Linked DNA regions of Homo sapiens: all the other regions are linked to region 7. Evidence: promoter capture Hi-C in human tissues and cell types (Jung and others, 2019). All regions are on one chromosome and are shown on one strand. Each heading gives the region's core, a stretch centred on a gene start or on the middle of the fragment in contact. The rest is flanking DNA. Distances are from core to core; before and after follow the strand shown. Region 1 overlaps ZNF616 (zinc finger protein 616). Region 2 overlaps ZNF765-ZNF761 (ZNF765-ZNF761 readthrough). Region 3 overlaps ZNF350 (zinc finger protein 350). Region 4 overlaps ZNF525 (zinc finger protein 525). Region 5 overlaps ZNF845 (zinc finger protein 845). Region 6 has its middle 6.3 kb from the start of ZNF841. Region 7 holds the start of ZNF611 (zinc finger protein 611).

Region 1 (3,054 bases), core at 194-2,693, 610 kb after region 7:
AATACGAAGGGTTTTCATTTTCCCCATAGCCTCAAAATGTAAACAGAACATAGTAGTAAGTTTTTTTTTTTTTTTTTTATTGGGTGGGAAATCCACCCAATATGTGTCGTTGGTGTATGAGGACACCATTGCACCTTAGGGTAGTGGGAAATCTTGCCAGATCCAGGAAAATAGGAAATGCACCATCCTAAAGAGGCAATCACTCTTTCAGTTACCCAACCTGGAGGAACCCGGGTTTCTTTTCCCTGTCACTTTCTCCATCATCCCTCATGTTTCCGTGGGGAGCTACAGTTGTAAGTTCTGTGGCAAGAGTCAGTGAGAGGTGTCAAGATGCATTTACGTGTCATTATGAGATTTTAGAAAACAATTCTTCAGTACATGTTCTGTTGTGAAATTTCATTGTGCCAGTTTTTCAAAGATACATCTTTTTTTGTTAATAAGCAGTAATAGCTTGTTTTGCATCCTCTTTGGAACAATCTCTAAATGAAGACATATGGATCTTTTATAATTTTTCACCATGGCTGCCACAATGCTCTCTTCACCACAGGTGTTTGAGGGTTCCTTCAGGTTGGACAGTTTAAAGAGTGGTTGCTTCTGTTAGGACGCTATACCACAAAAGCAAAAATAAATAACTGATCTTTCTTTGGAAGGCCTGGCTCGCTGTGTGATTATAAAATACTGTGTTTTTTTAAGATCTAATATTTTGTTGCTTACATTTTATTTGCTTGAATCTTTAATTTGAATTTTTCTGTATATCTTGTTGTAGATTATATTTGATTATAAAGTTTTAGATTATAAATAACATAATAGGTTCACAAGTAGATTGGCAAACCCCTCCATTTTCTTTCCAAAATTATTATGGTTCTCCTTTTACACAACACAGCCACATATTATTTAAATTCCACATATTGGCCGGGTGTGGTGGCTCACACCTGTAATCCAGGCACTTTGGGAGGCCAAGGTGGGTGGATCACCTGAGGTCAGGAGTTCAAGACCAGCCTGGCCAACATGGTGAAACCCTGTCTCTACTGAAAATACAAATATTAGCCGGACATGATGGTGCACGTCTTTAATCTTAGCTACCTGGGAGGCCGAGGCAGGAGAATCCCTTGAACTTGGGAGGTGGAGGTTGCAGTGAGCTGAGATCGTGCCACTGCACTCCTGCCTGGGTGACAGTGAGACTCTGTCTTCTAAAAAAAAAAAAAATTCCCACATATTTTGTTTGTGTTTTCATGGCTCTGAATTTTTTCAGTTGCAGGCCTTTATGTCACCATGTCTTCCAAAAAGAATCGAGTTTGTCAGTCTTTGATAATATCTTTATTATGTCTTTCATTAAAGCTTGTTTGCTTATGTAAAGTTCAGTAATGTTAGATATATTCACATTATTTGTTGGACTCCCAGAATGCATATGTTCTTGGTGCTTGATGGTTTTTCATGGGCCCATTAGACTCTCTTCATTTTCTTTATTTTATTTAATTATTTATTATTTATTTTTTGAGATGGAGTCTCGCTCTGTCGCCCAGGCTGGAGTGCAGTGGCATGATCTCGACTCACTGCAACCTCTGCCTCCTGGGTTCGGGCAATTGTCCTGCCTCAGTCTCCCTGAGTAGCTGGGACTACAGGCACGTGCCACCACACCTGGCTAATTTTTGTATTTTTAGTAGAGACGGGGTTTCACCGTGTTGGCCAGGCTGGTCTTAAACTCCTGACCTCAGGTGATCTGCCTACCTTCGCATTTTCTTTATTTTTGGAGACAGAGTCACACTCTATTGCCGAGGCTGGAGTGCAGGGGTGGGATCTCAGCTCACTGCAACCTCTGCCTCCTGTTCAAGCAATTCTCATGCCTCAGCCTCAGATTACAGGCATGTGCCACCATGCCTGGCTAATTTTTGTATTTTTAGTAGAGATGGGGTTTCATAATGTTGGCCAGGCTGGTCTCGAATTCCTGCTCTGAAGTGATCTTCCTGCCTGGCGTTCTGAAAGTCCTGGGATTACAGTTGTGAGCAATCATGCCCGGCCCACATTTCTTTTTAATTCTTCAAAGCCAAGATGTAAATTGCCATTTCTTTCATGTAGGTTTGTACAGATTCAGTTGGTTTCTTTTTGTAGACCGTATTTCCCTGTTTCTTTGTATGTTTTATTGTCTTCTTTTGTGACTTCAGCATTTGAAAAAATCAGCTGCCTGCCCAGATTTGGTGGCTGCTTTGTTCAGGGAGGACATTCCAATCAACTACCCTAGATTCTGGAGACTTCCCATGCTTTTTCTCTGGGCCTTTGCTTGTCATCTCCCTATTGAAGAGGTTTGCTGCTTTCTACTCAGAAGCTCCCCTATTTTCTGTACTATTGTGGATAGACTCTGGTACTGCAGATATCTGTGGTACTAGATCTTCACCCTCATGTCTTTCTGTGTTATTGCAGACACCGGTTTACGTCAGTTATCTTTTTGCTCAGTGGCCCCTAACCTTTCATCCTGTTCCTTTCAGTGCTACCACAGGAGGTCACCACTAAGGCAATTCTCAGCCTAGCCATGGAGGCAGGGACACCTTAGAGAGTGCTTATTAGGGCAAGGTCAAGGGGAGCCCTGGAAGCAGGACCACGCCTGAGACCCCAGAACTGTAGAGTCACCAGTATGTGATCCCAGCTCGGGAAACCACAGCCTGTGAGAAGTTCCATGTGGGTGATCCCAACAAAACTAATGGGGCAGGGATCCCCAGGACACTGGGGACCTAACTCCTACTCCAGGATGTCTAGAAGGTGGGACATAGAGTCAAAGAAGATTATTGTCAAGCCTTAAGATTTAATATGTGTGCCCTATTTGAGTTTCAGACTTAACATGGGAGTGGCTACCTCTTCTTTCCTGTTTCTGCATTTTGGAGTTGAAATATTTAGCCTGTGTCTACGCCACCGTTGGATGTTGGAAGCACTTAAGTCGTTTGATTTCACACGTTCACAGCTGGAGAGCAGTTTGCCTCAGGATGAAACACATTTTTGAGTCTCACCCATATCTGATTTAGATTATAGTTAGATGCAGCTGTAGACTATAGACTTTTGAAT
Region 2 (3,273 bases), core at 597-3,096, 720 kb before region 7:
CCCGCCTCAGCCTCCCAAAGTGCTGGGATTACAGGATTGAGCCACGCCGCCCGGCCCATAATTATTCTTTTATTGAGACAGTATCTCACTCCATCACCCACGCTGGAGTGCAGTGGCATGACCACAGCTCACTGCAGCCTCGACCTCCCAGGCTCAAGCCATCCTCCACCACAGACTCCACAGTAGCTGGCCCTGCAGTCAGATGCCACCATGCCCAGCTAATTTTTGTATTTTTTGTAGACAAGGGGGTTTCACCATGTTGCCCAGGCTCGTCTTGAATACCTGGGCTCATGTGACCCACCTGTCATGGCCTCTGAAAGTGCTGGGATTATAGACCTGAGACACTGCATCTGATCTCATCGTAAATTTGATGTTTCTTCTTGTTTCAATTTTAGCAGAATTTATATTGCTTTGATAGAGTCTCTTTTCAAACTCATGTCTTATCCTTCTGAGTGCCTTAAACTACAGCCTGTTCAGACATAACAGACTTGTACCAGTGTTTTGTTGCAAAAACTAAAATTCATGCAAATTTTCTCATAATAGGTATTTTTCCATGAACTTCTTCAAGATCCATTGTACTAGAAAACTGTATTCAAGAGGACATTAAAAAAATGTAGATATTCAAGTGCCACTTATTTCTGGGATGCAAGGATGGTTCAACATATTCAAGCAAATCAATGTGATATACCACTTGAACAGAACAAAAGATGAAAACCACATCATCTTAATAGAGAAAAAGCATTTCACAAAATTCAAAATCCAGTCATCATAGAAATCCTAAACAAAATAGACAGAAAAGGAAATTTACCTCAACAATAGAAAGACCGTCCATGAAATGACCAATGAGTAAACAGTCAAGCAGGGAAAATGTAATGCCTTTCCTGGAGGCTCTCACATGATGCAAGAATGCTCTCACCCCTTCTATTCAATCAATACTGGCTGTCCCAGCCAGAGCAATGAAATAGCAGAGGAAATAAAACTCATCCAAATCAGAAAGTAAGAAGTAAAATTATATTTGTTTGTAGATGACATAATCTTCTGTGTAGAAAATCACAAAGAGCCAACCAAAATACTACTGGAACTAAGTAACATAGTCAGTGGATTTGCACAATACAGTATCAGCACCAAAAATTAGTTGAATTTCCATACTTTAACAATAAACAATTTTAAAAGAAAATTTTAAAACACTTCCATTTGCTGGAGAACTTAAAGAAATACTTAGAAATAAACGTACAAAGGTCAGAAGTTTGTACCTTGAAATCTACAAACATTGATCAAAATGATTAAAAACATTGAGCTACAACCCATATTGATAGCTTGGAAAAATTAATATTGTGAAATGATTATATAATAACCCAATGTGATTTAGATTCAACATGATATCCATAAAAATCCCTATCAGTTTTTTTAAAGAAACAAAAAACAGGCTGGGAAAATGGCTCACGTCTGTTGGCCAGGCTGATCTCAAACTCCTGACCTCAAGTGATCTACCCACCTTGGCCTCCCAAAGCGCTCAGATTACAGGTGTAAGCTGATGTGCCTGGCCCAATCCTCTTAACATAAACACTAATGTCAATTAATGCTTGAACTCAATGTTAAGTCAATACAAACTCAAGTCAATGCTGAATTGACCCTAATGTCAATTAATGCTTGATGGTTTGCTCTACTCATTGCATATGGACCAACTACCTCCAAAATGAATTTTCTCATATTCTGCAAGGAGTGAACTCAGACTGAAGACCTTGGCACATTGATGACATTTGTAAGATTTCTGTCCAGTATGCATTCTCTGATGTCTCATGAGGTGTGAAGTGAAGGCTTTGCCACTATCATCACACATGTGAGGTTTCTCTCCTGTATGAATTCTCCTATGTTTTGCATAGGATGAAGCTTGACTGAAGACCTTGCCACAGTCATGACATTTGTAAGGTTTCTCTCCAGCGTTGAGTTCACCGATGAACTGCAAGGTATGAACAATGTCTGAAAAATCTGCCACATTTATTACCCTAGTATGATCTCTCTTCCTTATGGATTCTCCAGTGATTCACAATGGTTGTAGCATTACTGAAGACTTTGTGACAATCATTACCTTAGTAAAGTTTCCCTACACCATGGATTGCCTGACGGTAAACAAGTGTTGACTGCCTACTAAAGGCTTTGCCACACTCATTACACTGGTAAGGTTTCTCTCCAGTGTGAATTCTAGCATGTTGTGCCAGGTGCGAATCATGCCCAAAAGCCTTGTCACAAACTCTTACATTTTTATGGTTTCTCTCCAGTATGAATTCTCCTGTCTTTCACGGTTTGATGTGCGACTGTAAACTTTGTGACATTCTTCACATTTATAAGCTTTCTCTCCAGTATGAATTCTCCTGTCTTCTGAGGCTTGATTTGCCACTGTAAACTTTATCACATGCTTCACATTTCTAAGGTTTCTCCCCAGTATGAATTCTATGATGACCTGCAAGGTGTGCTTGTTGATTAAAAACCTCACCACATTCATTACACTTGTTTTTCTCCAGTATGAAGTCTACGATGGCATGTAAGGTTTGACTTCTGACTAAAGGTCTTGCCACACTCATTACACTTGTAAGGTTTCTCTCCAGTATGAAGTCTATGGTGGCATATAAGGGATGACTTCTGACTAAAGTTCTTGCCACACTCATTACACTTATAAGGTTTCTCTCCAGTATGAAGTCTATGATGGCATATAAAATATGACTTCCGACTAAAGGTCTTGCCACACTCATTACACTTGTAAGGTTTCTCTCCAGTATGAATTCTCCTATGTCCTTCAAGGTTTGATTTCACACGGAAAGCTTTGTCACATTCTTCACATTTGTAAGGTTTCTCTCCGGTATGAAGTCTACGATGGCATGTAAGGGATGACGTCCGACTGAAGGTCTTGCCACACTCATTACACTTGTAAGGATTCTCTTCAGTATGAATTTTCTGATGTATTTCAAGGTTTGATTTGAAACTGTAAGCTTTGTCACTATCTTCACATTTGTAAGGGTTCTCTCCACTATGAAGTCTACGATGGCGTTTAAGGGTTAACTGCTGATTGAAGGTCTTGCCACACTCCTTACACTTGTAAGGTTTCTCTCCAGAATGAAGTCTACGATGGCAGGTAAGGGATGACTTCCAACTAAAGGTCTTGCCGCACTCATTACACTTGTAAGCTTTCTCTCCAGTATGAAGTCTATGATGGCATGTGAGGTATGACTTCCGACTAAAGGTCTTGCCACACTCATTACACTTGTATGGTTTCTC
Region 3 (3,124 bases), core at 202-2,701, 750 kb after region 7:
ATTGACAGTTGATTCTAAAATGGTTTTTGTGTATGTTGTGAGGGGGGTTTTAACTTTCTGTCCCCATCCCCAGTACCATTTATTGATTTTTTTTTTTTTTTTTAATTTTTTTAGATAGAGTCTTGCTCTCGTCGCCCAGGCTGGAGTGTAGTGGCGTGCTTGGCTCAACTGCAACCTCTGCCTTCTGGGCTCAAGTGATTCTTGTGCCACGGCCTCCCGAGTAGCTGGAATTACCAGCAGGTGCCACCTTGCCTGGCTAATTTTTGTATTTTTAGTAGAGATGGGGTTTCACCATGATGGCCAGGCTGGTCTCCAACTCTGGCTCAAGTGGTCCACCTGCCTGAAGGGGGCCTGCCCCTCCACACCTGTGGGTATTTTTTGCAAGGTGGAAATGAGAGACTGAGAAAAGAAATCAGACACAGAGAGAAAGTACAGAGGAAGAAAAGTGGGCCCAGGGGACTGGTGTTCAGCATATGGGGGACCCACACCGGCACTGGTCTCTGAGTTTTGTTAGTATTTATTGATTACTATTTTTACCATCTTGGTGAGGGGGGTGTGGCAGGACTATAGGGTAATGGTGGGGAGAGGGTCAGTAGGAAAACATGTGAGTAAAGGACTCTGTGTTATAAATAAGTTTAAGGAAAGGTCCTGTGCCTTGATGTGTACGTAGGCCAGATTTATGTTTGACTTTACACAGACATCTTAGTGTAGTAAAGAGTAGTATTGCCGCCAGTATGTCTCACCTTTAGTTATAAGGTGGTTTTCTCCTATCTTAGTAAATAGAATGTATGATTGGGTTTTATACCGGGACATTCCATTCCCAGGGAGGAGCAGGAGACAGATGGCTTTCTCTTATTTTAACTGTAAAGAGGTCTTCCTCTTTCACTAATCCTCCTCAGCACAGACCCTTTACGAGTGTTGGGCTGGGAGATGGTCAGGTTTTTCCCTTCCCACGAGACCATATCTCAGGCTGTATCAGTGGGAGGAAACCTTGGACAATACCCAGGCTTTCTTGGGCAGAGGTCCCTGCGGCCTTCCGCAGTGCATTGTGTCCCTGGGTACTTGAGACTGGAGAATGGTGATGACTTTTACCAAGCATACTGCCTGCAAACACATTTTAACAAAGCACGTCCTGCACAGCCCTAAATCCATTAAACCTTGAGCCAACACAGCACACGTTTCTGAGCACAGGGTTGGGGCTAGGGTTACAGATTAACAGTATCTCAAGACAGAGGAACTTTTCTTTGTACAGATTAAAATGGAGTTTCTTATGTCTTCCTCTTTCTATATAGACACAGTAACAGTCTGATCTCTCTTTCCCCCACACCTTCCTCAGCTTCCCAAAGTGCTAGGATTACAGGCGTGAGCCACGGCGCCCTTAGTTCCATTTATTGAAAAGACAGCTTTTATCTACTTCCCTGTAGTGCTATCATTGCCATTGAGTCTCTATATGTGCTTAATTCTGCTTATAAGGATTTTATTCTGTTCCTTTGTCCTATTTGCCTGTTATTGTACTAATATTGTGCTGTCCTAATTAAAGTAGCTTTATAAGTCCTCATAACTGATATGGCAAGTCTTCTAACTTTTTTTTCAAACTTTAAAAAAAAGTTTATAGCTATTTAAACTTTTCAGTATCAGTTTGGGATTGTGACTGTGATTTCATTGAATCTGTAGATTTGGGAGACTTGACATTTTTAAAATGCTTTGTTTTCCAGCCCATCTTTATAGTACATCTTTGCATTTATTTAAAACTGTTAAAATTTATCTCAGTAAATCTAATTTTAAAAATATATTCGAGTTCTTCTAAATGATATCGTTTATGTCAGCCTAAAAGAGGAAACTGCACAAAATACAATTTTAAAGAGTTTACTTGAGCCAAAATGAGGACAGCTGCCTGGGAAAATACTTTCAGGTTGCCTTGGTTAAGTGCTCTGTTAGGATTTTGTTAGAAACAGGTTTTAAAGTCAAAAGGGAACAAACCGTGAGCTGACATAAAGTTGTTTGGCAAGAATTCTCATTGGTTTACAGAAATAATATCAATTAACAATTGGCTGTACATTGTTAACTATGGGGTTTTATGAGTTAGGATGTCCAGTGAATGGCATTTTATGGCTACTCAGTGTGAGTTAGTCTAGAGCCTACATAGCAAGTGGCTTTAAGAGATAATTATTTAGCTTGAGGGGGAAATGAGATGTGACTATTGTCACATTAAATTTTTTTTTTAGTTTTTAATTTTTTCTTTTTTCTTTTTTTCAGGGGAACCCCTATCAGAAAGACTGCTGTCACATTTTAATGCCTCTCTAGACCTGATAATTTAAAGGGAGTCACATTCCTCAGATAAAAGATTCATTTCTTTCTCATTTATAAATTTTATTTTGTTTGTTGATGGTCTGTTCTGTCAGTTACTAGGAAAGGTCTGTTAAAGTCTTTAGTCTGAATTTTCTATTTCTTGTTTTTGGTTCTATTTTTTGCTGTATACATTTCAAGACTGTTGTTAGGGGTATACATATGGTGTATTTCTATGAATGAAGAGCCAAATTTCACCTCTTTTCAGTGAGCATTGTTTCTCTTTCTCTCTGTTAATTCTTTAGGATTTCTGGTCAGTTTTGTCTGAGATATAGTTATAACAGATTATCTTTGGTTACTCTCTCTGTGGCATATTGTCTCCAACCTTTTATTCTCAAGCTTCCCATATCATTTTGGTTCAGACATATCAACTATAATAACCGCATGTGGGGAGGCTGAGGCGGGTGTGTGATGAGATCCGGAGTTGAAGGCCAGCCTGACCAAGATGCTGAAATCCGATCTCTACTAAAAATACAAAAATCAGCCAGGCGCGGTGGCGGGCCGTAACCCACATGGACCCATGGGACTGCACAAATGGGGGTGAACGTGGGAATAAAGACAGGAGACAAAAGAGTATATTTGGGAGAAGGGGTCAGGGAGCACCTTACCTCTAGTGGACAAGGGCCCTGAGCTTTACACAGCCCTCCGTATTTATTAGGCAAAAGAGATAGGAGGGTGGGGGGGTGGAAGAAGGGGTCGGCTGCTCAGTTCAGAGTAGGCTTGCAAGACTGCATTCTCTAGATGTCGCAGTAGATAACCTCGGTGCCAGGGAGTGATT
Region 4 (2,976 bases), core at 295-2,794, 650 kb before region 7:
GAAGGTCTTGCCACACTCATTACACTTGTACGGTTTCTCTCCATTATGAATTCTCCTATGTCTTTCAAGATTTGATTTGTATCTGAAAGTTTCATCACATTCTTCACATTTGTAAGGTTTCTCTCCAGTATGAAGTCTATGATGGCATGTAAGGGATGATGTATGACTGAAGGTCTTGCCACACCTATTACACCTGTAAGGTTTCTCACCAGTGTGAATTCTCCTATGTCTTTCAAGGTTTGATTTGAAACTGAAAGCTTCATCACATTCTTCACATTTGTAAGGTTTCTCTCCACTATGAAATTTATGATGGTATACAATGGATGACGTATGACTGAAGATCTTGCCACAATCATTACACTTATAACATTTCTCTCCAGTATGAATTTTCTGACGTATTTCAAGATTTTATTTGAAACTGTAAGCCTTGTCACATTCTCCACACTTGCAAGGTTTCTCTCCACTATGAAGTCTACAATGGCAGGTAAGGGATAACTCCTGACTGAAGGTCTTGCCACACTCATTACATTTGTACAGTTTCTCTCCATTATGAATTCTCCTATGTCTTTCAAGACTTGATTTGAAACGGAAAGCTTCATCACATTCTTCACACTTGTAAGGTTTCTCTCCAGTATGAAGTCTACGATGGCATGTAAGGGTTGACATATGACTGAAGGTCTTGCCACAATCATTACACTTGTATGGTTTCTCTCCAGTATGAGTTATCCTATGACTTTCAAGGTTTGATTTGAAACTGAAAGCTTTGTCACATTCTTCACATTCGTAAGGTTTCTTTCCAGTATGAATGCTACGATGGCATGCAAGGTATGACTTCTGACTAAAGGTCTTGCCACACTCATTACACTTATGTGGTTTCTCTCCAGTATGAATTCTCCTATGTCTTTGAAGGGCTGAATTGTGTCTGAAAGCTTTGTCACATTCTTCACATTTGTAAGGTTTCTCTCCAGTATGAAGTCGATGATGATATGTAAGGGATGACATCTGACTGAAGGACTTGCCACACTCATTACACTTGTAAGGTTTCTCACCAGTGTGACATCTACGATGGCGTGCAAGGTATCGCTTCCGAATAAAGACCTTGTCACATACATCACATTTATATTGTTTCTCTCCTAGATGAATAATCTGATGTTTCCTTAAGAGTGAGCTATAATTAAAGGCTTTGCCACTCTCAATACATTGGAAAGATTTTTCTCTCATGCGTACTTCCTGTCTTTGTGTGAGTAATGAATAATTCAGAAAATTATCCCCATAGTTATTAGATATATGGGTTTTGGGCCTACAAGAAATTCTTTGGGCTGTTGAAACCGAGGAAGCATCGTTGATAGACTTCTCCACTTGATTATTAATTTTCCCTTTGGGCTGAAATATGTGGAGTTCAGACAGATGTGAATGAAAGCTTGATCCAAGCTGATATTTAATAGGCTTGTTTCCAGCATGCCTGTGATCATATTGCTCTGTACTACCCATCAATTTTTTGATTTTTGTCATGGGTGCTTCATGGCCATTTCTTTCATCTTCTTGCCACTGAAACTCAAAGTTATGAATATCTTTCTCAATTTCCTGGAAGGAAAAATCTCCAATGTGATGACGTTCATGTCTTTGCAATGTCCCTGTGTGGATCACTTCTGTATTGCCTTGTGCTGTTGATGAGAACTCCTTCATTGTGCATTTGGAAGAGATACCTACAAAATATAAACACTAATAGGTACACAAAAGACAATACTGATTTTAAACTTCCCAAACATGATCTTCAAAGTTTAGGAACACAAAATCGTAAGATTCTTTAATAAATAAAGGGCGATTACATGTGCTTCAAATTATTATTATGAAAGCTTATTTCCAATATCATGACAAAACACTGAAGGGCACAAACATGTGTAAGCCTAAAATAAGGAGTATTTTTCCACTGTGACCCTAAAGTGTCTAACAGTTTGCAAAAGACATATCACTGTCACATCAATGAAAAGTATATATTCTTCATATTTACAGCATACTTACTGTATACAAATAAATACTAAAGGACCACACAATATAATATACTGGTAAATAATCCACAGCAAGCTCATGTAAGGATAACCAAAATCAATGGAAATTCTGTATTGTTAAATAATCATAGCACTGAGAAGATAAGAAAAGTTTACAAAATTTAGCAAGGCATGGTGGTGCACGTCTGTACTCCCAGCTACTCGCAAGGGTGAGGTACAAGAATTGCTTGAACCCAAGAGGCAGAGGTTGCAGTGAGCCGAGATCGCACCACTGTACTTCAGCCTGGATGACAAAGTGAGACTCCATCTCAAAAAAAAAAAAATATTTTTCTGAATAACTGTCATAAAATTACCTATATCCATGCAGAAAAGGCATATTGTAACATTTAAAATTTTTTTTTTATTTTTGTATTTTTGAGACAATGTTTCACTGTGTCACAACAGGCTGGAGGGCAATGGCCTGATCTCAGCTCACTGCAACCTCCACCTTTTGGGTTCAAGCCATTCTCCTGCCTCAGCCTCCTGAGTACATGGGATTACAGGCACATGCCAGCATGCTTGGCTAATTTTTGTATTTTTAGTAGAGATAGGGTTACATCATATTGGCCAGGCTGGCCTTGAACTTTTGACCTCAAGTGATCCACCCGCCTCAGCCTCCCAAAGTCCTGGGATTGCAGGCGTGAGCCACAGCACCCGCTGGCACTTTGTGACATTAACTAGTAAACTGTGTCAGTTATATTGCATACCACATACCGAAAAGCTTTATGTAAAATCATAAAAATGAATTGGTAAAATAACTGTAACGCATAAAACCAGCAAGCAAATCATAAGTACATTTATACAAACTGCAGAATTCTAAACAATTCCCTGTTAAGAAAAAAGCACAACTTCTACTTACCACCAGCACACAATATAAGAACTGAAATACATGTTAAGATCACTACCTTCTGATGTATGAGGTCAAAAA
Region 5 (3,208 bases), core at 1-2,500, 620 kb before region 7:
CATGGGATGCAAGGATGGTTCAACATACTCAAATCAATGGGATACACACTTGCACAGAATGACAGATAAAAAACACATTATCTCAATAGATAGAGAAAAAGCATTTCACAGAACTCAATATTCATTCTTCGTAAAAATCCTAAACAATATAGGTAGAGTTTTACCTCAAAAATATAAAAATCATCCATGAAATGACCACAGCTGAAATAACCAATGAAGGAAAATGGAATGGTTTTCCTGTAGGATATCACATGATGCAAGAATGCTCTCACCCCTGATATTCAATAAATACTGGCTGTCCTAGGCAGAGCAATTAAATAGCAAAAGAAATAAAACTCATCCAAATCAGAAAGACAGAAGTAAAATTACATTTGTTGGGGCCGGGCTCATGGCTCACACCCATAATCCCAGCAATTTGCAAGTCCGAAGTGGGCGGATAATGAGGTTAGGCGATCTAACATATTCTTTCAAGTTCTCTTCAAGGTACTCACCATGTTGGCCCACCATCTGGGCCAACATGGTGAAACCCCGTCTTTACTAAAATAAAAAAAATAAATAAATTAGCTAGGTGTGGTGACATGCGCCTGTAGTCCCAGCTACTCAGGAGGCTGAGACAGAATTGCTTGGACGTGGGAGACAGAGGTTGCAGTGAGCAAAGATCATTCCACGGCACTCTAGCCTGGCGACAGAGAGAGACATTGTCTCAAAAAAAAAAATTATTTCCTTGTAGATGATACGACATTCTATATAGAAAATCACTGGCTGGGTGCGGTGGCTCACACCTGTAATCCCAGAACTTTGGGATGCTGATGGGGGCGGATCACCTGAAGTCAGGAGTTCAAGAAAAACCTGGTCAACATGGTGAAACCCCGTCTCTACTAAAAATACAAAAAAATTATACGGACATGGTGGCAGGCACCTGTAATCTCAGTTAGTAGGCAGGAGAATCACTTAAACCCGAAAGGCAGAGGCTGCAGTGAGCCAAGATCGTGCCATTGTACTCCAGTCCAAGTGACAAGAGTGAGACTCCTTCTCAAAAAAAAAGAAAAGAGCCTGGGTAACAGAGTGAGACTGTCTCAAAAAAAAAAGAAAGAAAATCACAAAGAATCAACCAAGATTTTACTGATACTAATAAACCCACTCAATGTATTTGCAGAATACAAAATCAGCACCCAAAATTAGTTGAATTTCCTTACATTAACAATAAATAATGTTTAAAGAAACTTATGAACACACTTCAATTTGCTATGAAACTTAATACTTACAAATAAACTGAATTAAGGAGGTGAGAAGCTTGTACCTTGAAATCTACATTGATCAAAAAAACTAAATAGACATACAACCCATATTGATGGATTGGAAGTCTTAATATTGTTGAATGATTATACAAACAAATGTGATTTAGATTCAACAGATACCCATAAAAACCCGTAACAGTTTTTATTAAAGAAACAAAATACAGGGTGGGAAAAGTGACTCATGTCTGTTGGCCAGTCTGGTCTCAAACTCCTGACCTCAAGTGATCTATTGGTCTTGGCCTCCCAAAGTGCTGGGATTACAGGCGTGAGCCACCCCGCCTGGCCCAATCTTCTTAACATAAACACTTTAATGTCAATTAATGCTTGAACTCAATGTTAAGTCAATTCAAACTCAAGTCAATGCTGAATTGACTCTAATGCCAATTAATGCTTGATGGTTTGCTATACTCATTGCATTTGGAACAATCATCTCAAAAATGAATTTTCTGATGTTCCTTAAGGGGTGATCTCAGACTGAAGACCTTGCCACACTGATGACATTTGTAAGATTTCTGTCCAGTATGGATTCTCTGATGTCTAATTAGGTGTGAACGTGAAGTAAAGGCTTTGCTGCAATCATCATACTTGTGAAGTTTGTCTCCTGTATGAAGTCTCCTGTTTTGCATAAGATGAAGCTAGACTGAAGACCTTGCCACAATCATGACATTTGTAAGGTTTCTCTCCAGCATGAGTTCACCGATGAACTGCAAGGTATGAACAATGTCTGAAAAATTTGCCACATTTATTACACTTTCAAAATCTCTCATTATGGATTCTCCAATGATTTGAAACGGTTGTAGTGTTACTGAAGACTTTGTGATAATCATTACATTAGTAAAGTTTCCCTATACCATGGATTGCCTGATGGTGAATAAGTGTTGACTGCCCACTAAAGGCTTTGCCACACTCAGTACACTTGTAAGGTTTCTCTCCAGTGTGACTTCTAGTTTGTTGGGCCAGGTGTGAATCACGCCCAAGATTCTTGTCACAAACTCTTACATTTGTAAGCTTTCTCTCCAGTATGAATTCTCCTGTCTTTCAAGACTTGATTTACAACTGTAAACTTTGTCACATTCTTCATATTTCTAATGTTTCTTTCCAGTATGAATTCTATGATGACGTGCAAGTTTTGCTTTTCGATTAAAAACCTTGCCACATTCATTACACTTGTAAGGTTTCTCTCCAGTATGAATTGTCTTATGAATTACAAGGACTGAATTGTGACGGAAGGTTTTGCCACACTCATTACACTTGTAAGGTTTCTCTCCAGTATGAATTCTATGATGACATGCAAGGTGTGCTTGTTGATTAAAAACCTTACCACATTTATTACACTTGTAAGGTTTCTCTCCAGTATGAAGTCTATGATGACGTGAAAGGTTTGCTTTTCTATTAAAAACCTTGCCACATTCACTACACTTGTAAGGTTTTTCTCCAGTATGAATTGCCTTATGAATTTCAAGGGCTGAATTGTGACGGAAGGTCTTGCCACACTCATTACACTTGTAAGGTTTCTCTCCACTATGAATTGCCTTATGAATTACAAGGGCTGAATTGTGACGGAAGTTCTTGCCACATTCATTACACTTGTAAGGTTTCTCTCCAGTGTGAATTCTAGTATGTTGTGCCAGGTGTGAATCACGCCCAAAAGCTTTGTCACAAACCTTACATTTGTATGGTTTCTCTCCAGTATGAATTCTCCTGTGTTTTTCAAGGCTTGATTTGCGACTGAAAACTTTGTCACATTCTTCACATTTGTAAGGTTTCTCTCCAGTATGAAGTCTAAGATGGCATGTAAGGGATGACTTCTGACTGAAGGCCTTGCCACACTCATTACACTTGTAAGGTTTCTCTCCAGTATGAATTGCCTTGTGAATTATAAGGGCTGAATTTCGACCGAAGGTCTTGCC
Region 6 (3,319 bases), core at 431-2,930, 630 kb after region 7:
TCACATGTCCACTTCTTTCAGTATAACCACTGGTACTTGAGGAGTTGAATAGTTTTAATTTCTTGCCCTGTGTTTCACAAACACAGTTTATTTTGATTAGGAACTTCTACTGGGTCTGAAGATGAGGCTTGAACTGCTGTCAGTGTTTAAGATTTAGCAAGACTTGGTGTCCTTTTTAGACCCAGGAGTCAAAGCCCTTTAACTGAATGGAACAGGGACCTAAAAGCATATACGGAAAGTTATATGGACATAATAAACTTAATTTAAAAAAATTTAATTTAAATTTCCTTGTAACCAAACCAAACTTAGTAATACTGACACAGGAATTACTTTGATAAAGTGTGAGATCTGTTTAGTAGGCCAGTTTTCCAAAGGCAAAAGAAAAGCCCTTCTACAGTGTGACTGCTGTTCCCTATGGGAGATATTATGTTTGGAAAGAAACATTTCCTTTAGACCTCAAAAATAAAACATTTTATAGTGTCAGGCCACAACAGTTAGAACCCAAAGAAAAAAAGGCTACAGGAGCTGAAAATTAGGTGAAAAAGTTATGATTTCAGGCCTTTTAAGAGGGGAGAGAAAGCTGAAAACAGTGAGATTCCATAAAACTTGAACTTTACATTGAATAAATTATGTTTCATAATTTATTTAAAGCACCGCTTAACAAAATTTTGTAGTTTGAACCAATTCTTTAGTGTATAAGTGGTGTTTTTTAAAATCAAAACCCAATCTCTAGAAAGACCATTATAATTTCCCTTTAATTATAGTGAATTTGATCACATAAAACTTTTTTTCATCAATCTTATTATGACTTACACAGACCATTCATGACATGTGTGGGATTTCTTGTTTTTCCTGAACATTCATCTTTCTTATACAATCAGTCATTTTATTCCAGGACAAAATTTCTGATACAAGATTCTTTCTCATATAGAATTATTTTTCTTTAAGCTTTCCTACCAAAAATATTTATTTATTTATTTTTGAGACAGAGTCTCTCTCTGTGGCTCAGGCTGGAGTGCAATAGCTGAATCTTAGCTCACTGCAACCTCCATCTCCTGGGCTCAAGTGATTCTCCTGCCTCAGCCTTCAGAGTAGCTGGGATTACAGATGCACACTGTCATGCCTGGCTAATTTCTGTATTTTTAGTCGTGTTGTATTTTGAGACTTCTACCAGTCCATAGTATTTTCTAAAAACAAAACTAAATATAGATTTATAATAATCCTTTGGATGGTAAATTTTTGTGGGAATGAAGTAGCTGGGTACTCTGGAGGCTGAGGCAGGAGGATCACTTGAATCTGGGAGGTGAAGGTTGCAGTGAGCCGAGATAGTGCCACTGCACTCCAGCCTGGGCAACAGAGCCTGTCTTAAAAATAAATAAATAAATAAATAAATAAATAAATAAATAAATAAATAAATAGAAGTAGCTGGAGAAAGGTGCTTACTGCACAAGGAAGGCATACTTTCTGATACTGTATTAGGGATGTCATCAGGTGAAGTCAAGAACAACAAATCACAATGGACTGGAAACATTCTCAGGAGAACTGTAGCCATGAAAAGGACTGTTGTTCATTCTTGACCTTGTGGAATCAGTCCCTGACTCATCTTCTCAGCAACATTGCACATTTGCTGTGAAACAGAAACTACGGGGTACCTTCTTTATTTTCCTTTTCTGGATGGGAGGGTTTATTCAGGTTTCATTTTTCTGTTCCACAATGAAGTGTTGTGAGTGAGGAGAACTCTACTGGGCTCTCAATGAAAAGAAGTCTCATGAGACTGTCATGAGATCCTTGCTTGTGACTTGAAGTTACATTTTGGCTTATTCTTTTATATTTTTTAGAAGTGGGGGTGAATATTTGGTGTGAGCAAAAGAGGAACAGATTATTTCTGCTGGAAGCTGCACTGTCACATGTTATAATATTTTGAGACAGGATCTTGCTTTGTCACCCAGGTTGGAGTGCAGTGGCACAGTCTCAGCACACTGCAACCTCCACCTCCTGGGCTCAGGTAATTCTCCTACCTCAGCTTCCCAAGTAGCTGGGACTACAGGTGCATGCCACCAAATCCAGCTAATTTTTGTATTTTTTTGTAGAGATGGGGTTTCACCATGTTGATCAGGCTGGTCTCGAAATCCTGACTTCAAGTGATCCATCCACCTTGGCCTCGCAAAGTGTTGGGATTACAGGTATGAGCCACCGCACCCTGCCAAATTAGTATGTTGGGTTTTTAAAAATCCAACTGATACAGCTGTACATTAGCAACAGAGCTCTTGCTTTTACATTATACAATTTTAGTTCATTATCTTGTATCATTCCAGTTCTTTCACTGAACTTAAAATGTAAGGGACCCTCCATATATTGATAGAATACATCCTTTACATCTGTCAGGTCTCCGCATATTTTTTTGCCATACAAATCTGAAAATACCACCTTGATTTACTAATCCTATAAGTTTTTCACTGAAGTACAAGGAAAGAAATGTAAATCTTTAAATTGGATTAAATCGTTTCTAGGAAATTGTATAATGATTTTAAAAATTATTTTTAAAATTACATTTTGGCCAGGCACAGTGGTTCACGCCTGCAATGCCAGCACTTTAGAATGTGGGGGTGGGGAGATCGCTTGAACCTAGGAGTTTTAGACTAGTTTGGGCAACATGGTGAAACCCCATCTCTACTAAAAATACAAAAACTGAGGTTGGGGTATTGCCTGAGCCTGGGGAGGTGGAGGCTGCTGTGGGGTGTGATTACATCGCTGCACTGCAGCCTGGGCAACAGAGTGAGACCTCATCTCAAAAAAAAAAAGAAAAAAGTTTTGCTACAGCTGTGAAATCATTAGCCTTTGAAAAATAATTCTTCTATTAAATAATTTAATATTTATTGTCTGTTAGATATTAATTTTATAGTACAGGTGTAAAAATATAGGTAATTTGTCTAAACAGTATTTCAGAAACACTTCCAACAATTATATTGTGTGAAGGGTTCTATGTATGCATGAAGAAAGGACATGTATAAAGTTTTTAGCATGGGGAAAATTGAGTTTTTATCAACTTAAACGTCAGGAGTTTCAAAAGTAAACATTCAGTGTTGAAATAAAAACTGTCTGAATCTATCTATCTAATATATATGTTTTTTTTTTTTTTTTTTTTTTGAGAGAGAGTGGTTGTGTTGCCCAAGCAATAGTGCAGTGGTGTGATCTCAGGTCACTGCAACCTCCACCTCCCAGGCTTGAGCAATCTTCCCACCTCAGCCTCCCGAGTAGCAGAGACTACAGGTGCATGCCACCACCCTTGGCTAATTTTTTTTTTTTTTTGTAGAGATGG
Region 7 (2,854 bases), core at 211-2,710:
CAACATGGTCAACCCCGTCTCTACTAAAAATACAAAAATTAGCCTGGCATGGTGGCGCACGCCTGTAATGCCAGCTGTTCCCAAGGCTGGGGCAGGAGAATCGCTTGAACCCAGGAGGCAGAGGATGCATTTAGTCGAGATCTCGCCACTGCACTCCAGCCTGGGCAACAGAGAAATACTCTGTCTCAAAAATAATAATAATAATAATAATAATAATAATAATAATACAAGAAAGTAATAGATCTCTTCCATAAATGTGCTAGGACAACTATCTGGATATCCACATGGAAAAGAATAATGTTGGATCCCTATGTCACACAATCAAAAATTTTATTTGCGAAAGTTTTTTTTAAAAAAAAAGAGAGAGAGAGAGACAAGAAAGGGAGACCGCGGCAGTGGGCGTTATTTTGTCGCTCAGGCTGGCTTGGAACCCGAGGCTCAGGGATCCTCCCGCCGCTGCTTCCTGAGTAGCTGGGACCTCAGGCTCCCGCCCCCGCGCCTCTGCTGTCTTTAAGCAGCAGGTGGTGACCTCACTCCTTCTCGGCCTGAGCACTCCGTCCGGCATTCCAGGCGGTGGCTTCAGGGAAGTCTCTGAAGCTGAGCACAGGGCGGAGTCTCCTTCCGGAGTGAATGGACAATAGAAAGGGAGAGGATATCTATCTGTTCTGTGGGACCTCAGCATGACATGGTACATACCGCCCAGGCAGGGCTTTGCATTTCACATTCTAGTTTGTATCCCTGTTCCAGACAATTACAGTGTAGCAGGACGAGTCGCAGACAAAACCTCTCAGACACCGAGTTGTAGAAGGAAGGGCTTTATTCAGCTGGGAGCATTGGCAAGCTACTGCCTTAAAATCCAAGCTCCCCGAGTGCACAATTTCTGTCCCTTTTAAGGGCTCACAACACTAAAGATTTCAGATGAAAGGATAGTGACTGATTGAGCAAGCAAGGGATACGTGACAGGGGCTGCATGCACCGGTGATCAGGGAGAGAGAGAACAGGGCAGGAGTTTCACCGTGTTCTTCTATACAATGTCTGGAATCTATGCCTAACATCAGCTTCTAAATCATAAGTTGATTTTTAACTACTGGGTTTAGGCCAGGCGGATCCAGGCCTGGTTTCGGGCCTGGCGCGGGGCTGCCTGTCTTTGGTTTTACTTCCTGTTGTTTTTACTGACTATAAAACAATATAAAACAATGTCAGAGGGTCTCTCTCTTCTCTCAACAGGGCTTTTGTATCATGCCTCAGACTTTCTGGCGCTCTCGCCTCCAAAACCTGAAAACAGAGACGCTGGGAGCGAGGCTGAGAGACGCGCAGATCCCGCCCCGGCCCTGCCCTCTGCCGGTTCTAAAAGGCAAGGTCTCTCCGCCTCGCGCCCCGCCCCTACCTCGCCCAGGCCCCGCCTACCTCCCACTTCCCGCCCAGGCCTGGCTTTTGTCCTGCGCGCGCAGATTAACGCAAACCCGGAAGCGGATCGGGTGGAGTGTAGGTCATATCGCCGCGGTGAGTTTTGCTCTGTGTTGTATTAAGTCTGCGCTAACTAGGTTCCCAGGGCTTCTGTCCCTGGGACGTGGGGTCCCCACAGACCTGGAAATTCTCCGGCGTCTTCCTTTGCCCAGAGCAAATTGAGACATCCCCGTGAGAGCCCGAGGGTCGCTTCCTTTTGGGTTTAAAGTCGTCCTGAGGCTGGTCTCGTCCCCGGTCTTTCTGCTATAGGTCAATGTATACACTTTCTGTTGCGTAGTTTTCCTGCTGAAAACCTTGTTCTGACTCCTCGCGCCCCGCGCTTTTTAAAGTCTTCACCCGCGATGTGGATTCTTGCCCAGGGCGCCTCCCAGCCTCCCCCTCCTCAGCCCCGGGAGCGCCGCGCCGCAGCCCCAGTCCCGGGGAGGCCGAGTCCTCTGCCAGGTCCTGGGATCCTGCAGACCCCATCCTGGTCCTAAGGCGCCGTCGCGCCCCCCCCCCCCGCCCCGCACCTTCCTCCTCATGCCGGGGCCTGCTGCTCCCCAGGTCTCCCCTCCGCAGTCACCGCTTTCATTGAACCTGCACTGGGGAGGTCCCAGGGGCCTGTCCTGCGGCACGGGGTATTCTTGCCTGCGGAGCTCCAGGGCGTGGAAAATGCGCTCCTCCGGGATGCAGGCGTCTTACTCCAAACCGTGTTGCGATTGTGTGGGCCAAAGGAATCAGGAGACAGAGAGCAGTAGAAAACCTGAGGCAGAGAAAAGAAGAATAAGAAAGGCCCATAACAGATGGCAAAATAGAGGATTGGTGAGGGATATGCCAAGAGATGGCAGAAGTGAAAAAAAAAAAAAAAAACCTAAGAAAGCAGGAGGAGAAAAGCAACCGGAGAAATGTAGAGAAAGGCTAGATAGATGTACAGAGAGATGAAGGATCACAAGGTAGGGGGAGTGGCAGCAAAGAGGGAGACTCATCAGAGTGAGGGAGAGAGGGAAGGATTTGGAGCCAGGGCAGACAGAGCAGAGTGGTGCTTGTGTCAAGGAGAACAGAGGGAGAACCACAGCAGAGAGGACAGCTGGGATCTGGGGAGACACAGAGTGGGGACAAGGGAGTATATCGGGGAAGATGGAATTTAACAGGGAGAGCAGAGGAGGCGCAGAGATGGGAGAAGAGGCAGAAATAGATGGAGATTGAGGACGATTGAAAGATTGGGGAGAAGGAGCAATAAGAGGTTAAATAAGTTGTGAGGATGGAGGAGAAGAGGTGGAAGAGAAGGAATAAAGGGAAGAAGGGGATGAATAGCAGGAGAGGAGAGGGGTACAAAATGAAGAGCAGAATCCCAGGGAAAAAGAAAAGAAAACAAGAGCTAGAGAGAGAAGGGGAGAATGAGAGATAT

Evidence for each region. The method cuts DNA at HindIII sites, captures the fragments that hold promoters and counts their contacts. A contact is called where the count stands out against the background at its distance.
Region 1: a fragment that was not itself captured here is called in contact with the fragment with the promoter of ZNF611 in region 7 in 1 of the 25 tissues and cell types used here (lymphoblastoid cells).
Region 2: a fragment that was not itself captured here is called in contact with the fragment with the promoter of ZNF611 in region 7 in 2 of the 25 tissues and cell types used here (aorta and hippocampus).
Region 3: a fragment that was not itself captured here is called in contact with the fragment with the promoter of ZNF611 in region 7 in 1 of the 25 tissues and cell types used here (stomach).
Region 4: a contact is called between a fragment that was not itself captured here and the fragment with the promoter of ZNF611 in region 7, in 1 of the 25 tissues and cell types used here (small bowel).
Region 5: a contact is called between a fragment that was not itself captured here and the fragment with the promoter of ZNF611 in region 7, in 3 of the 25 tissues and cell types used here (hippocampus, liver and spleen).
Region 6: a contact is called between a fragment that was not itself captured here and the fragment with the promoter of ZNF611 in region 7, in 1 of the 25 tissues and cell types used here (stomach).

The regions. Positions count from the first base shown.
Region 1 is chr19:52,125,211-52,128,264 of GRCh38, reverse strand. All of the region lies in intron 2 of ZNF616 (zinc finger protein 616), which reads left to right. Among named protein-coding and RNA genes, the nearest start is that of ZNF616, 13 kb to the left of the region's middle. The HindIII fragment of the contact is 6,561 bases long and covers 1-3,054 here.
Region 2 is chr19:53,455,978-53,459,250 of GRCh38, reverse strand. ZNF765-ZNF761 (ZNF765-ZNF761 readthrough) reads right to left here. Exons shown (of 13, transcript NM_001350496.2): 13 at 990-3,273. The coding sequence ends at 2,503. It overlaps ZNF761 (zinc finger protein 761), which reads right to left. Exons shown (of 5, transcript NM_001289951.2): 5 at 990-3,273. The coding sequence ends at 2,503. Among named protein-coding and RNA genes, the nearest start is that of ZNF813, 10 kb to the left of the region's middle. The HindIII fragment of the contact is 5,248 bases long and covers 1-3,273 here.
Region 3 is chr19:51,981,164-51,984,287 of GRCh38, reverse strand. The region is part of intron 1 of ZNF350 (zinc finger protein 350); the gene reads left to right. It overlaps ZNF350-AS1 (ZNF350 antisense RNA 1), which reads right to left. Exons shown (of 3, transcript NR_103847.1): 3 at 2,921-3,124. Among named protein-coding and RNA genes, the nearest start is that of ZNF350, 4.1 kb to the left of the region's middle. The HindIII fragment of the contact is 5,256 bases long and covers 1-3,124 here.
Region 4 is chr19:53,379,452-53,382,427 of GRCh38, reverse strand. ZNF525 (zinc finger protein 525) reads right to left here. Exons shown (of 4, transcript NM_001348156.2): 4 at 1-1,706. The coding sequence ends at 409. Among named protein-coding and RNA genes, the nearest start is that of ZNF765, 14 kb to the left of the region's middle. The HindIII fragment of the contact is 5,110 bases long and covers 1-2,976 here.
Region 5 is chr19:53,352,764-53,355,971 of GRCh38, reverse strand. It overlaps ZNF845 (zinc finger protein 845), which reads right to left. Exons shown (of 4, transcript NM_138374.3): 4 at 1-3,208. The coding sequence ends at 2,384. It also overlaps the pseudogene LOC107987264. Among named protein-coding and RNA genes, the nearest start is that of ZNF525, 11 kb to the left of the region's middle. The HindIII fragment of the contact is 6,579 bases long and covers 1-3,208 here.
Region 6 is chr19:52,100,434-52,103,752 of GRCh38, reverse strand. No RefSeq gene overlaps it. Among named protein-coding and RNA genes, the nearest start is that of ZNF841, 6.3 kb to the right of the region's middle. The HindIII fragment of the contact is 3,157 bases long and covers 102-3,258 here.
Region 7 is chr19:52,733,650-52,736,503 of GRCh38, reverse strand. ZNF611 (zinc finger protein 611) reads left to right here and starts at 1,460. Exons shown (of 6, transcript NM_001161499.2): 1 at 1,460-1,503. LOC124904760 (a long non-coding RNA gene) reads right to left here and starts at 2,473. Exons shown (of 2, transcript XR_007067328.1): 1 at 2,044-2,473; 2 at 800-1,710. RefSeq lists enhancers at 1,045-1,174, 487-1,472 and a silencer at 1,355-1,424. The HindIII fragment of the contact is 18,911 bases long and covers 1-2,854 here.